Regions from separate parts of the Homo sapiens genome. Here regions 2, 3, 4 and 5 are each linked to region 1. Evidence: promoter capture Hi-C in 16 types of primary human blood cells and fetal thymus (Javierre and others, 2016). All regions are on one chromosome and are shown on one strand. The core of a region is centred on a gene start or on the middle of the fragment in contact, and the rest is flanking DNA. Distances in the headings are between cores, read along the strand shown.

Region 1 (2,697 bases), core at 142-2,641:
ATGTAAGATTATTTAGATAAATTTGAAAACAAACAAAAAAAAGAAACAACACAACCTTGTAACACACATTTGAAGGTAGTTTGCTTTTTTCGCTTTGAAAGCGATCAGTTTAGAGAGATGAATGACTAATCCCAGAAATGAGTATCTGAGCATTTCCCTGCGGATGGTCGGTGCTAACATTTACTGTGCTGCGCTACTACTCAGAATTTTAATAAAGCTTAACGTGGAGATTTATCTCTCTGATTGGTGGTGGTGTGGGCAGGCAGATAACGCACAGGCGCTTCCATTGTATGGAACAAATATAATCTCTTACTGGCGAATTAAAATAAATTACTCCTGTCTCCAAAGGGGACTGCTCATTTCTTTACTTTCTAAATAACTAGCGCGTCAACTACTGTTTTAGGCTACCCTGAAATTGTGTACAGGCTAACATAAAAGGTCTCCTGCCGTAAAAAATAAAATAGGATAACACACACGCAACCCAAACACACACAAGCAAACACTCAGTTACCTCTTCATTCAAATGCTGTAGGAACGAGAAAATAAAGGCAGCCCAGCGCAACCAGATCTCATTTCCGACAGGTTCCCCACGCTCTCCTCGCACGACCGAGGGGTCCCCAGCCCGGGCCCTGGACGCGGCGAGCAGGTGACCATGGCACCCCGCGCCCCGCAGGTTCCCGCGGTGCCGCAGCCTTCAGGTGTCTTGGGCGCCCCAGATCCTCCGGGCCCGGCGCCGCTCCAGGAAGTCACCCTCAAAGCCGGGGCGCCAGGCCACCTCGGACACGCTCTCCTGTGCCCCCACTCCCGTTCGCGAAATCATGTTCGCCGGGACATCCACTGGGCAGGACCCCCTACCAGGCCTGCGTTTCCTTTTAAAAACAAAAGCGAGCGAAACAAGCCAGCGCGCCCTGGCCGCGCCCGCCGCTAGGCGACCCCGAAGACAGCGGCCCTAGCACGCAGGAACCCCCCGGCCGACCCCGCCAGCCCCGGAGGCCACTCCATAACCGGAAAACGAGCCGGCGCGGAACTCAGACGCGCGCCCCTAGAGTCCTCGCAGCAGCCGCCACCCCCACCTGCACCCCCGGCAGCGCCCCGAGATCTGCGTGTCAGTGCCCCCCGCGACCCCCGCCCAGGCCCCGGGTGACCCTCCATGGGACTGGAGCCGCGCGCCGGGCGCTCTCTGCGGGCCCAGCTCTTACCCTGCCGCTGCGGGCAGGGCCGGCGCTTGGTCGGGACGGTGGCTGCTCGGCGCCCGCGGCTGCTCGGTGCGCGCCGGGCGAGGGCGAGGGCGCCGGCCAGAGACGATCAGGGAGGCCGGACGCTGGCCGGGCGGCTCCGGGAGCTCTGAGCTGGAGCGACACCGCACTCGTCAGTCTCTGGAGGAAGTAACCGGGCCGTCCCCCACGCGGCGCGCTCTTCAGGAGCGGGAGGAGGAGGGAGGAGGGAGGAGGAAGGAGGGACGGCCGAGTGGAGGGGAGGGGAGGAAACGAGGGAGGAGAGAAGAGAGAGGGGAGGGAAGGGGAGGAGAGAGAAGAGGAGGGGAAGGGAGGTAGGCAGGATGGGGAGAAGCGGGAGGAGAGGGAAGGGGGCAGCAGGAGGGTTGGGGGAGCGGAGGGAGAGGAGAGGGAACGCACGAGGGGAGAGAAGAGGAGGGCGGAGGCGGCGAGGGAGCGCGGGGCGGGGCTGACACCTTCCGGCCCAACCTTCCCTCCGCCTCCTGCTGTCACTCGGCTGGGTCCCTCGCCGGCTGGCCCTGAGGCCCCGGGAGCAGGGCCTCGGCCCCACGTGCGCGCGAGTGTGCGCCCTGGGAGCCGGGCGGAGACTTTCCGTGGAGCGCTCGGCGTCCTCTCTGGGGCCAAGGCCCTAACGCCAAACCTGCCTTTGGAATTCCGCAGCGACGGAGCAGTGGTGCTGGTGGCACCGAAGGGCAGCCGGGCTTGGGTAATAAGGCCCTGAAATTGAGCCGACCCCATTCTTGAACCTCTGAATGGGCTTAGGACTAATGATCATTCTATCACAAAAAGGCTCCAAATGAGGCGCTTCCTGTAGAAACCGGGCCCTGGCTGTGTCCCCGAGTCGTGGTGCTGATCGCGCTGCTCCCGGGAAGCCCCGATCCCGCAGGCTCCGCGGGAGTGGCGCCCTCTGGAGCTGAGCGGTGCCCAGATAGCGACCCGCCTTGGCCGCGCTTCAATCTGGGCTGGGCACTCCACGCACATCATCGTCACTCTCGGAGGACTTGCGGCTCCCACTTTACACAGGTGGGAACTGAACCTTAGGATGAATAACCTGCCACGTCAGATTGATGAGAAATTCAAGGTGGAAACCTGAGTTTATCTGACTCCGAAACCCTGGTCAAAACCACCCCCTACACTGTGGTTTCCGTTTTTATCAGAAGGTGCTTGAGTCCATGGCTGTTTGGACTCAGGTCACATGCTCAATATTTTGCAGGAAAGTTTAGATTCCTGAAGTTGTGGATGAAATAGGAAACCCCAGCTTAGGCGAGGCCACGGGGCTGAAAGCTGCTCACATCTCAAGAACTGCGGCACCACCGGGAAGGGAGAGGAATGGCCCAGCTTCTCTGTGACTCAGGGTTCTAGGTTTCCATGGTGACTCTAGGTCTAGAGTTATCCGGATAATTGAGATATCGGTGCACCTTAATGTTTCTGGGTCCCCGAAGGTCTCCGGGTATCACCGTGG
Region 2 (2,697 bases), core at 52-2,551, 310 kb before region 1:
AGCAGGGAGGCAGAAGCTGGGAGTGTTGTGTCTACAAGTTGAGGACAGTGGCAAAACCAGAAGCTACGAGGGGCATAGAATGGAATCTCTCCTAGAGCTTTCCGAGGGAGCGTGGCCCTGCTGGTATCTTGATTTTGCATTCGTAGCCTCCAGAACCATGACAGAATGCATTTTTGCTGTTTTAAGTCACCCATTTGTAGTGCCACATTTTGTTCTGGAAGACCTAGGAGACAAATCCAGCAGGTCACCGACTTTTTCTCCTGGAAGATATAACCTCTCATGTTTTTCTTTGCTCTTCCTTCCTGCTGCCTGGCTGGCGTGGGTTCTGCCTGTCCTGTTCACTGCCCCATGAATCCTGTCAGTCTGAGGATTTATAAATGCATGTGACTTTTTCATTTTAGTTTTGGGAGACTTTCAGTTATTGTTTCTTGAGCAACCTCTCCCCCGTGCCCTTTTTCCGCTTCTCTCTCCCTTTAGGGAGCTGTTGCCGCCCCTCTTGTTCTCTGCCTCACCTGACTGTTCTGCCCTTTCGGCTTCTCCTCCCTTCCTGACCCCGGACCCCCAGTGCACTCTTTTTTTTTTTTTTTTTGAGATGGAGTCTTGGTCTGTCACCCAGGCTGGAGTGCAGTGGCATGATCTCAGCTCGCTGCAACCTCCACCTCCCTGGTTCAAGTGATTCTCCTGCCTCAGCCTCCCGAGTAGCTGGGATTATAGGCGCCCACCACCACGCCCAGCTAATTTTTGTATTTTTAGTAGAGATGGGGTTTCACCATGTTGACCAGGCTGGTCTCAAACTCCTGACCTCAGATGATCCGCCAGCCTCGACCTCCCAAAGTGCTGTGATTACAGGCGTGAGCCACCGCGCCCCACCCCCCAGTGCACTCTTCAATGGGTCTGTCCTGCTTCTTAGCCCATCCCTCCTGTCCTTTATTTCATCAATTCTGTTTCATATCTAGCATCAGCAAGTGTTTCTTCTTTCTGTTTGCTTCTGCTTTGTGTTTCCCAAATCCTCTGTTCTCGCACTGGGGGCGTCGCTCGTGTTCACTATGGATTTTCGCTGCCCTAGCTTGGTTCTGTTTCCTCAGGAAAAGGTGATTCTGTGGCTCTTTCCTCTCACTAGGGACTGTGCTCCTGGTCACCTCCCTGCGGGCTTGACCGTGATTCTGCTGGGATGATTGAGGGGTGTAGCTGGAATTGTCTCCCTGGGTATTGGGTAAAAGACTAGGCCTAATGTGGGGTCCCTCGGGTGAGTTTCAGGAAGACAGCAGGTTCTAGTGTGTACAGGGCCCACAGCCCCTGTCCCTCAATCCCTTTTTGTTCCAGGTACTTCTCTCTGTGGGGAAGCCACCCTCCACCCATTTCCCTGGGTAGGGCCGGGGAGGGCAGCCTTTGCTCAGGGGTCTACCAGGGCCTGGCTCCAGAGCTGCTGGGAGTCACCCTGACTGGCACTGAAGCCGCCTCCCCATGGCGGGGCTGGCCTGGATGCTGGCCGAGGCCCCATCTGTGGGTGTGCACAGAGGTTGTTTCCTCCTCCGCCTTCTCTTTTATGGGGTCCTGAGAACCCTGAGGTCCCTGCCCAGCCTGTGGTCTTTGGCTGAGCAATGCAAATGTAATGGGAACCAGGAGGTGTCTTCCAGGTCCCATCCAGGCCTGGTCTGTCCTGGCTACTCCTAGGGGAGAGAACAGGCCTTTCCAACCCCATCCGAGACCCTGCTGGGACCTCTGCATCCACGCTACCTTCCTTCCCTGCTATGCACACCACCCCCAGCAGAATAGTTTGGATGTCGTCTCCTGTAAATCTCGAGTTGAATTGCAATCCCCACTGTCGGAGGCGGGGCTTGGTGGGAGGTGGTTGGATCATGCGGGCGGATTTCTCATGAGTGGTTTAGTGCCATCTCCTTGGTCTTGTCCTCGTGATAGTGAGTGCTTGGGAGATCTGGTTGTTTAAAAGTGTGCGACACCTCCCCTCCATTCTTTCTCTTGCTCCTGTTCTAGCCATGTGACATGCCTGCCCTTGCTTCGCCTTCTGCCATGAGTAAAAGCTCCCTGAGGCCTCCCCAGAAGCTGAGCAGATGCCCTGCGCCATGCTTGTACAGCCTGCAGAACCGGGAACTAGTTAAACCTGTTCTTTATAAATGATGCAACCTTAGGTATTTCTTTATAGCAATGCAAGAATGGCCCAATACACCCAGTGACGCTCCTGGGTTCCTCAGAGCTATTTTGTCAGCTGATGAAGAGGCTCGTAGGTCCAGCCACTTCTGTGATTGCTTGTTTTATCTCCGTGGATGGGGAGGGGGTCCCTGTCAGGGAGCTGGCAGCCCGTACTTGTTTTCCGTTTTGTGTGGACATCACACAGCTTTTTGAACAAAGCAAGAGTCTCACTCATGGCTTCTTGTGTTCTGAGATGTACTTAAATCCTTAAGCAGCGTCCGTGTGAACATGGGACAGCGAGAAGGCATTTGGACTCCTCTTCTGGGCCTTGTGTATTTTGTGGTGCTGAGGGGAGGGCAGGGCGAAATGGGGATGCTGTCTTTGACATGCTGCACAGGCCATGAGGCTGGCTCAGCCTACACTGTAGCGCAGGGACCAGGGCAGGGGAAGCCCTTTTATCTGTTGCTCCTGACTTGGCGGTTCTGTCCTAACAGCAGCAGGGTGGGGACTGCTGAGGATTCAAGAAAAACCAAAGCTCCAGGAAGG
Region 3 (2,697 bases), core at 106-2,605, 290 kb after region 1:
TCTCCTGCCTCAGCCTCCTGAGTAGCTGGGATTACAGGCACACGCCACCATGCCCAGCTAATTTTTGTATTTTTAGTAGAGACAGGGTTTCACCATGTTGCCCAGGGTGGTCTCAATCTCCTGACCTCATGATCCGCCTGCCTCGGCCTCCCAAAGTGCTGGGATTACAGGCGTGAGCCACTGCGCCTGGCCCGTAGGTTTTAATTAATATATTTAAATTTTCTTGGCATTTCAGTATTTCTATATTATAATGTGAATTATTTTAAAATACTTTATCTGATTACAAAGGTAGCACACACTTGTTTTATCCTAAATTTTCTCAACTGTTTGACTTGAAAAGGGGGCAGTTACTCCATGATCCAAACCTCAAAACTGAAATTTGTATTTTAAGATGTTTTCTCTGCATATGCTAATATACATATGTGATAATTTTCTAAAACTTATTATACTTTGAATATTTTCTATGCAGTACATTAATATCTATCTCATTCTTAATACTGTGTAGTATAATTATTCAATATCTGATTGAAAGACGTACAGTGTATTTTCATATTTTACTGTTACTGAGCAGTGTAATAGCAGACATCCTTTGTACTTATAACTGTCTATTGTGAGTATTTCTAAAAAATAGATTTCTAGAATATCAATTGCGGAGACAAAGGATAAATTATTTTATTCCCATTATACACGAATGTCAATGCTTTTTCCTCCACATTCTTGCCAATACTTCAAAATATTACATTTTTTCATTGTTGTTATCTGGCTAGGCCCAAATATTGTGTGGTGGTTTATTTATTTTTATTTTCTTTAATCTGTTTTCACTTTTCTTGGATGGTTTACACTTATGGATAGTAAACTCCTGTGATGGTGACTCGTGGTCATCCAGGTTCTTTTGCATTGTGTGGGTTAGGATGGGCAGGACACACTCTTGTATATGTACCAGCTGTTGGTTTATGTGATTTTTTCAGGTCAATCTATCCCATCTGACAATATACCTTCCATTAGGCTGACAGTCTGTCATGCACACAGTGCACACACACAATTATATTACAAGGCTGATAAAACCGAATTGCTCTGTTCCAGTGGTTCTCAACTGGGACAGTTTTTGGTTGCACCTTTAGGGACAGTTGGCCATGTCTAAAGACAGTTTTGGTTGTCATAATTGGAGTCTGCGAGGTGTTACTGGCATCTAGTGGGTAGAGGCCAGGAATGCTAGCAAACATCCTGCCATGCACAGGGCAGCCCCCACAACAGATAATTAACCAACCCAAAATGTTGATGCTGCCAAGGTTGAGAAACCCTGTGGTCTATTGCTGTGACATTTTAGTGCTTCTGTTGTATCACAAGTGTACCAATTTGTGTTAATTTTAACACATTTATTCTTGCTTAAAAATTGGGATGTATCTTAAAATTGATTGATTAGAAAGTATTACGGTGAATTTTCATTGGCAGAATTGTTTTTTCTTTCCTAGTGATACTTTAAATCATGATGTGCTTTACATCTTACCACCCAAAGTCTTAGATTTGAGGAAATATGATATGATTGTGTCTTATCTTTTATCCCTACATATGTGCAGTCTAATTTCAGTGTAGGAATAGGAAGTCTCGTGTAGCATGACAGTGTAATTGCTGTATTTGTAGGTATTAAACATCAATCAATGCCTAGCTTTGTACCCATAGGCATTCCACTTTGTGCCTGCTCTAAGGCAAAACACAATATTCAATGCTGGAAATAATTTCATATTTAGTTTTATGTTAAAGTAGTTCCTCTTAGATTTAGTAAATAGACAAAATATTGATTGAATGTTCAAATGTAGGGTGGAATGATTGATTTATTCATTTGGGAGGTTGTGAATCATTCCTATATCTATTGATTTTGTTCTTCATTTATATTCATTACCTTTAAATTCAGGAAGGTTATTGAAAATTCAGGGGGAAACATTTGTTAGGTTGCTAACTCCTTCACACTAAACCTTCTATGTTTTCTTACATTTACAAGCAGTCTAATAATCCAGTGAATCCCTTACATACTGAATGTTGGGAAAAGGTCATGACAGGAATATCTAGTTTTCAAATCTTGGTTTGTTAAAGATCAGAAATCTTCCTTCCAGATCTTGGTTTGTTAAAGGTGATGATCACCTAAACTAAAGCATACTCAGATGATGGCTGCTTGATATAATGGAGTGAGCTTTTATTCCTGGCTCTTATAGGAGAAAATCTGTAAGTGGTCAGGGGAAAATCGATTTCAATGTGTACTGTCAATTCCTTTTTTTGCATTTGTAAGTGAGAAAAAAATTAGGTGGTTAAAAGGTGGCAGTTTTGAGTTATTAAGAATGATATGGATTAGCCTCAACTTCCATGGGTCACTACGAGGTAGCCGCTGATACTTCACATCTGGTTTTGGTTTGCAGTAACTGACAAAGAAGCACAAGGTATGTATAGCCCTATTGTTAGTGTCGTTCCACTCTTTTAAAGACAAAAAGCTCCCCACTCCAAAAGTACTGAAATATTTTCAACTCCAATTTACAGATTAGGCAAAACCTCTTGAGTTAAGGGTCACTAAAGGCAGCTGAAAAATTTCTTTGCAAACTTCTCAGTGTTCTGGCTGTTAAAGAAAAATAGTAAAATAAAAAGAGCTCCCCAGTGTAAGAATTCCATGAAACAGAGAGTGACGTGTGAGACGCATTAATGCTTTCC
Region 4 (2,697 bases), core at 147-2,646, 290 kb before region 1:
AAAACTACGTGACCTGGCCTTATCTTCTCAGCTTCATTTCTCACCACCTGCTACCTTGTTTCTTTAACCTTTATTGGATGCTCCTTTAATGCAACAACCTTATTTCCTGGTCAGGACTGCTGTTTCCTTGGTCTAGAAAAATCTTCCCAGATATTTATTTGGCTTCCTCCCTCGCTTCATTCAGGTCTCTGCTCAAATTCAGGGTCCTCAGAAAGGTTTCTTTGCTGACCCTCAACCTGCCCAGGACTCTATCTGTCTCCTTTCATGGCATTATTTTTCTTCCCTACCTGATGTGATATTCCAGGTGTATTTATGCAGTGGTCCCCAACCTTCTTGGCACCAGAGGGTGGTTTCATGGAAGACAGTTTTTCCACGGCGTGGGGGATGGTTTTGGGATGATTCAAGTGCATTCCATTTCTTATGCCCTTTATTTCTATTATTATTACATTGTAATATATATAATAAAACAATTATACAACTCACCATAATGTAGAATTAGTGGGATCCCTGAGCTCGTTTTCCTGCAACTAGCTGGTTCCATCTGGGGGTGATGGAGACAGTAACACCTGAAGTGTGGTGCTTATGTCCAGTCTACTTTGTGATCTCGTTTTGGTTGCTGTCACTGCAGAAAACCCTGCTTCACAAAGATAGGATGTTGGAAATGGAAGCAGGCTTTCCAGTGCTTTTCTGGCAACCGCAGGATATTCTGCCTTGACTTTAATCCAGAATGTATGGAGATGGGAAGTTGTCTCAGACCTACCTTTATTGCCACTTGATGCAGCTGTACAACTGAAGCTCACTTGCCACCATGAAGCCTGCAGCTTAATTGTGTCTTGCCACTCACTGAGAGGGTTTTGTTATGAGTCTGAAAGCAGTTGACTTATTATGGTCTCTGTGCAGTCAAACCTCTTGGCTAACAAAAGTCTGTATGTGCAGCTGCTCCCCAGCACTAGCATCACTACCTCAGCTCCATCTCAGATCATCAGGCATTAGATTCTCATAAGGAGCATGCAACTAGATCCCTCGCCTGCACAGTTCACAATGGAGTTTGCGCTCCTATGAGAATCGTGTGCTGCTGATCTGACAGGAGGTGGAGCTTATGCAGTAGTGCTCGCTTACCTGCTGCTCACCTCCTCCTGTGTGGCCCTGTTCCTAACAGGCCACAGACCAGTACCAGGCTGTGGCCCAGTGGGTGGAGACCCCTGTATTTATGTATTATTTGGTCTGTGTCAGTAGCATGTGAGCTCCATGAGGGCAGGGACTTTGTGAAGGCCACTACTGTATTCAGAGCACCTAGCACAGTGCTTGGCAAAGATAAGCCCTCAATAAATCTTGCTGGATGCATTAATGAAGAAAAGAATGAAAGAGGGAAAGCCTGGCCCTTGCTAGGTGCTCTAGGCAGGCAAAAGAATTCTGCATCATCCTGCACACTGAGACAGGGCACTTCCTTCCGATGGATCCACCGAGGGGCGGACGCATCCCCAGGTTACCAAGGAAAGCAGTTCTTTGCAGGTGGTAGAAGACTTGTCACTTCCCCTCCCTATAAAAGCAAAAAAGTGTAATGGCAAATTCTGAGAGCCTCTGAGAAAGTCAGGCAGGTCCCTTTCCAGAAAGCCACCAATTGCTCTGGCTAGGATTACATGTTCTGTGAATTTTGAGTCTAACTTTGAAAAATTTATCATAGCCAATTAATCTGTTTAAGAAGACCTAGTCAATGCAATAGAGACCTTTTTTCCCCTAAGATAATTGAGATGAAACCTAAAAGAGATTAATAAAAAAAATTTAAAGCCCTTTTATTTACTGAGCAGTTAAAGATGAAGCCATCTGTTACCATAATGATAGTCTTTAGGGAAAAGCTGTAAAGACGCCAACAACAAGTAAATATGCCCATAAAATGTCCACCAAGATCCTAAAAAGCTGTTCCTTCATTCCTTTTTTCTCTTTTAGATACCCTTGGGTAACCTAGGAGTAAATGGCTGTTTGCTGGTGTTGTTTGATAAGTTCAGAGGTTAAGTGGCACTCAGGGTTCATGGTGCTAATATCTGATTTGTTAGACGAGAGTTTCCTGGAGACAGAGAGAGGAGGCCTTGGGTGCTGGGGCCAGATTTCCTCTTGGGATGACTTTTGACCCTGTCCTTTTCCTAGGGGTAACTGACACACAAAGCCTTCCTGTGTGGGGCTGGGTCAGTTTACACCAAGCATCATTATGCAGGGGCTGCTGCTGGAAACCCCAAGGACAATTTGGGGCAAATGTGTGCTGCGTTGGCCTCTAATCAGAGACTCTAGTCTCCATCATGTACCAGCATTGACAGACTTCTGAGAACCCAAGGTGGGAACAGTAATGTGAGGATGTTATAACACGGATTGAGAGTTAGGCTTTGTAGAGAAGACGCGCCAAAGAGGGACTTAAAAATTCTACGCCACGCTGTGCCTGTGCTGGCCGCCTGGCTGCCTCTCCCTGAGAAGCTCTCCTTTTCCTCCGCAGGACTTCGGGGAACCTTCAGGCTGTCGCCCTGCCTCTTTTGATGTTTCTCGCAGGTTGCAGATGGAGACAGGTTTTGTACTGAGGATCATTTTCACTTTGCAAATCAGTGTGCAGGAGATGGGACGGGAGCATAATGTCAGAGACACTTTAATTCCTGCACCCCGGCTTAGGTGAATGTGGAAGATCTCCAGACAGTGTTATATTAGATTTTC
Region 5 (2,697 bases), core at 120-2,619, 270 kb before region 1:
GGTGTTTCTGCACCTTCTTCTGTTTAGCCGCAAGAGAGTGGCCAGGTGGGAAGGCCAACTGACTTACTAATAGCTCGTGGCTCTGTGTGACCACTACAGATGGCGTGTCTCATTCCATCCCACAGCCATCCTATGAAACTGGTACTATTCTAACCGGGTTTTACAGTTGAGGAAACTCAGCCTCCTCTAAGAAATGACATGCACCAGGTCCCTCAGCTAAAGGGGGAAAGAGCGGCCTTCAAACCCAGACCTGCCAGGCCCCAAGACCTGAGTTTTCCGTCTCTGTGCTGTCCTGCCTCTCATTTGCCTCTTCTGGAGACAAGGTTATTTGTTTGTTTTTGTTTTTTGAGAGAGGGTCTCACTGTGTTCTGTTGCCCAGGCTGGAGTGCAGTGGTGCAGTCATGGCTCACTGCAGGCTTGACCTCCTGGGCTCAAGCGATCCTCCCTCCTTAGCCTCCTGAGTAGCTGCTGGTACCACAGGTTCACCCCATCATGTCCAGCTAAGTTTTTAAGTTTTTGTAGAGATGGGATCTCGGTACATTGCCCAGGCTGGTCTTTAACTCCTGGGCTCAAGCAATCTGCCCGTTTTGGCCCCACAAAGTTCTGGGATTATAGGCCTGAGTCACTGTGCCTGGCTGAGACCATAGTTTAAACAAAGAGTTCTGATAATTTTCTTTCCTAATATCCTCTTCTTAATGGGAAGCAGCTCCTTAGAATTCAGCTGTCAACTTTGCCCAAGTTTGGGAACATTTCAAGATGTCTTGGGTGTGAAATTGATTTTGTTCTGCTTTTTAGAAATACCAGGAGTAAGAAAAGTTGCCGTCAGTGTTTCTTTGTTTGTTTGTTTGCTTGCTATTTCCTCATTTCCTCACCTGTTCTCTGTGTACCTGTTTATGGTGGGGGTGCCTGTTGATATTTGACTGGTGGGAGGGAGGTGTGTAAGCATACTGGTGAGGTTTAGGTACTTCTGAGGAGCAAAGAACTGCGCAGCCATGGGGTAGGATGCCCTGTGTAGGTAGTGAGCTCCCCATTACTAGAGGTATCCAAGCCAACTTGCCAAAGAAAACCTCCAGGAATGCATCATTTTAAATACCAAGGATTTAGTATAGTGCCTGCACACAGTAAAGGCTCAGTAAATGCTTGTTGGGTGAATGAGCTTTTGAGCATGAGCGACCCTTTCTCCCCTGATAAATCTCAGAAAGGGTGAATGTTTGAAAGGACACCAAGAGATTGGTCAAGGTACTCATCAAACTTTTATTCTCAAAAACCACCTGAAAGATGGTAGCCTAACTCTTAAACATCAACAGAGAGCACAATGCTGCTCTTCATAGCAGAAGCACATCCCAAGATTTCACATATTTCATAATCAGTTTTAAAGGCAGTTCCTCAACTCTTCTGCCACAGGCTAAGTCCGTCTCCCTTGCTCATCCTCACTGGCAATAGAAAGCTAGGTTGGAGGAGGTGCCTCTCCTGTGAAACGGGGCACTTGGAAGAGGCTGCATCCACTTGGGCTTGTCCTAGAGCTGGGGTTGGCAAACCACGGCCTGAGGGCCAAATCTGGCCCTTTGTCTGTTTTTGTGAATAAATTTTATTGAAGAACAATAAACTTTTTATGGATTGTCTGTGGTTGCTTCATGCTACAAAGGCAGAGTTGAGTAGTTGCATCAGAGACCACCTGGCTTGCAAAGCCTAAAATATTTACTATCTGCTTATTTACAGGAAAAGTTTGCTTTCCTTGACCTCTAAAAAGATTCAGAATAAAGGCTGGAAAAATGAGAGGATATCATGATGAAGATGCAATTCCATTCCTGGGTATATATCCAAGAGAGCTGAAAACAGCACTCAAGAAATAGTTCCACACAAATGTTTGTAGCAGCATTATTCACGATAGCTAAAAAGTGGAAGCAACTCAGATGTCCGTTATTGGAGGCATGGTTAAACAAAATGTAGTCTTTTCATATATTGGACCATTATTCAGCCATAAAAAAGAATGGAGGACTGACACGCGTTACAACCTGGATGAATCTCGAAAATATTATGCTAAGTCGAAGAAGGCAGATACAAAAGGTCACATGTTGTACGATTCCATTTATATAAAATGCCCAGAATAGGGGCATTCAAAGAGACAAAAAGCAGATTAGTGGTTGTCAAGGGTCAGGGTGGGAGATGGGGGAGGGAGAATGGGGAATCGCTGCTTAATGGGTATGAGACTTTCTTTTGGGGTGCTGGAATGTTCTGGAACTAGATGGAGGTGGTGGTTGCACAACATTGTGAATATACTGAATGCCACTGAATTGTTCCTTTTAAAATGATTAATTTTATATTATGTGAATTTCATTTTAATTAAAAAGAATAATGGGGGTGCTAAGTGGTATGATGACATCCCAGAGTGTCACCTACAGCCTGGGAGTCCTTGATGCACCAGCCACTTGTGACCCCCCATCCCCACATTTATGCTGTATCTGTGCATAATGCATTTATGATGGTTCTAAGCCCCTTATGGGAACACTGTGTACATTTCCACCTCAGAGTATATTTCCATGAAGGAGGCAGGCAGAGTCTTATTATCCCTCTTTGGAATTTCTCCATCAGGTATGCCCCATCTGCTGCTGGTAAACTTCCCCATTCCAACCTTCATGGTGCTGGATTCCTGCACCTGCAGTAGTTCTTAGGTAAAAGACTTGTTTGCACAACATG

What was found. The method cuts DNA at HindIII sites, captures the fragments that hold promoters and counts their contacts. A CHiCAGO score of 5 or more calls a contact.
Region 2: a fragment that was not itself captured here is called in contact with the fragment with the promoter of ETS2 in region 1 in 10 of 17 cell types (megakaryocytes, M0 macrophages, M1 macrophages and 7 more); the score reaches 34.1 in megakaryocytes.
Region 3: a fragment that was not itself captured here is called in contact with the fragment with the promoter of ETS2 in region 1 in 5 of 17 cell types (megakaryocytes, endothelial precursors, M1 macrophages and 2 more); the score reaches 11.4 in megakaryocytes.
Region 4: a contact is called between a fragment that was not itself captured here and the fragment with the promoter of ETS2 in region 1, in 10 of 17 cell types (M1 macrophages, monocytes, M0 macrophages and 7 more). The highest score is 31.0, in M1 macrophages.
Region 5: a contact is called between a fragment that was not itself captured here and the fragment with the promoter of ETS2 in region 1, in 7 of 17 cell types (M1 macrophages, M0 macrophages, M2 macrophages and 4 more). The highest score is 16.2, in M1 macrophages.

Annotation. Positions count from the first base shown.
Region 1 is chr21:38,804,623-38,807,319 of GRCh38, reverse strand. ETS2 (ETS proto-oncogene 2, transcription factor) reads right to left here and starts at 1,391. Exons shown (of 10, transcript NM_005239.6): 1 at 1,200-1,391. RefSeq lists silencers at 669-768, 789-888, 999-1,288, 1,479-1,548, 1,569-1,898 and enhancers at 2,009-2,168, 2,179-2,238, 2,419-2,558, 2,092-2,592. The HindIII fragment of the contact is 4,522 bases long and covers 220-2,697 here.
Region 2 is chr21:39,117,577-39,120,273 of GRCh38, reverse strand. No RefSeq gene overlaps it. Among named protein-coding and RNA genes, the nearest start is that of LINC02943, 34 kb to the right of the region's middle. The HindIII fragment of the contact is 7,449 bases long and covers 1-2,697 here.
Region 3 is chr21:38,510,346-38,513,042 of GRCh38, reverse strand. The region is part of intron 1 of LOC105372802 (a long non-coding RNA gene); the gene reads right to left. It also overlaps a transcript of ERG not described here. Among named protein-coding and RNA genes, the nearest start is that of ERG, 13 kb to the right of the region's middle. The HindIII fragment of the contact is 3,047 bases long and covers 1-2,697 here.
Region 4 is chr21:39,098,310-39,101,006 of GRCh38, reverse strand. No RefSeq gene overlaps it. Among named protein-coding and RNA genes, the nearest start is that of LINC02943, 15 kb to the right of the region's middle. The HindIII fragment of the contact is 7,041 bases long and covers 1-2,697 here.
Region 5 is chr21:39,076,853-39,079,549 of GRCh38, reverse strand. The region is part of intron 3 of LINC02943 (long intergenic non-protein coding RNA 2943); the gene reads left to right. Among named protein-coding and RNA genes, the nearest start is that of LINC02943, 6.3 kb to the left of the region's middle. The HindIII fragment of the contact is 9,621 bases long and covers 1-2,697 here.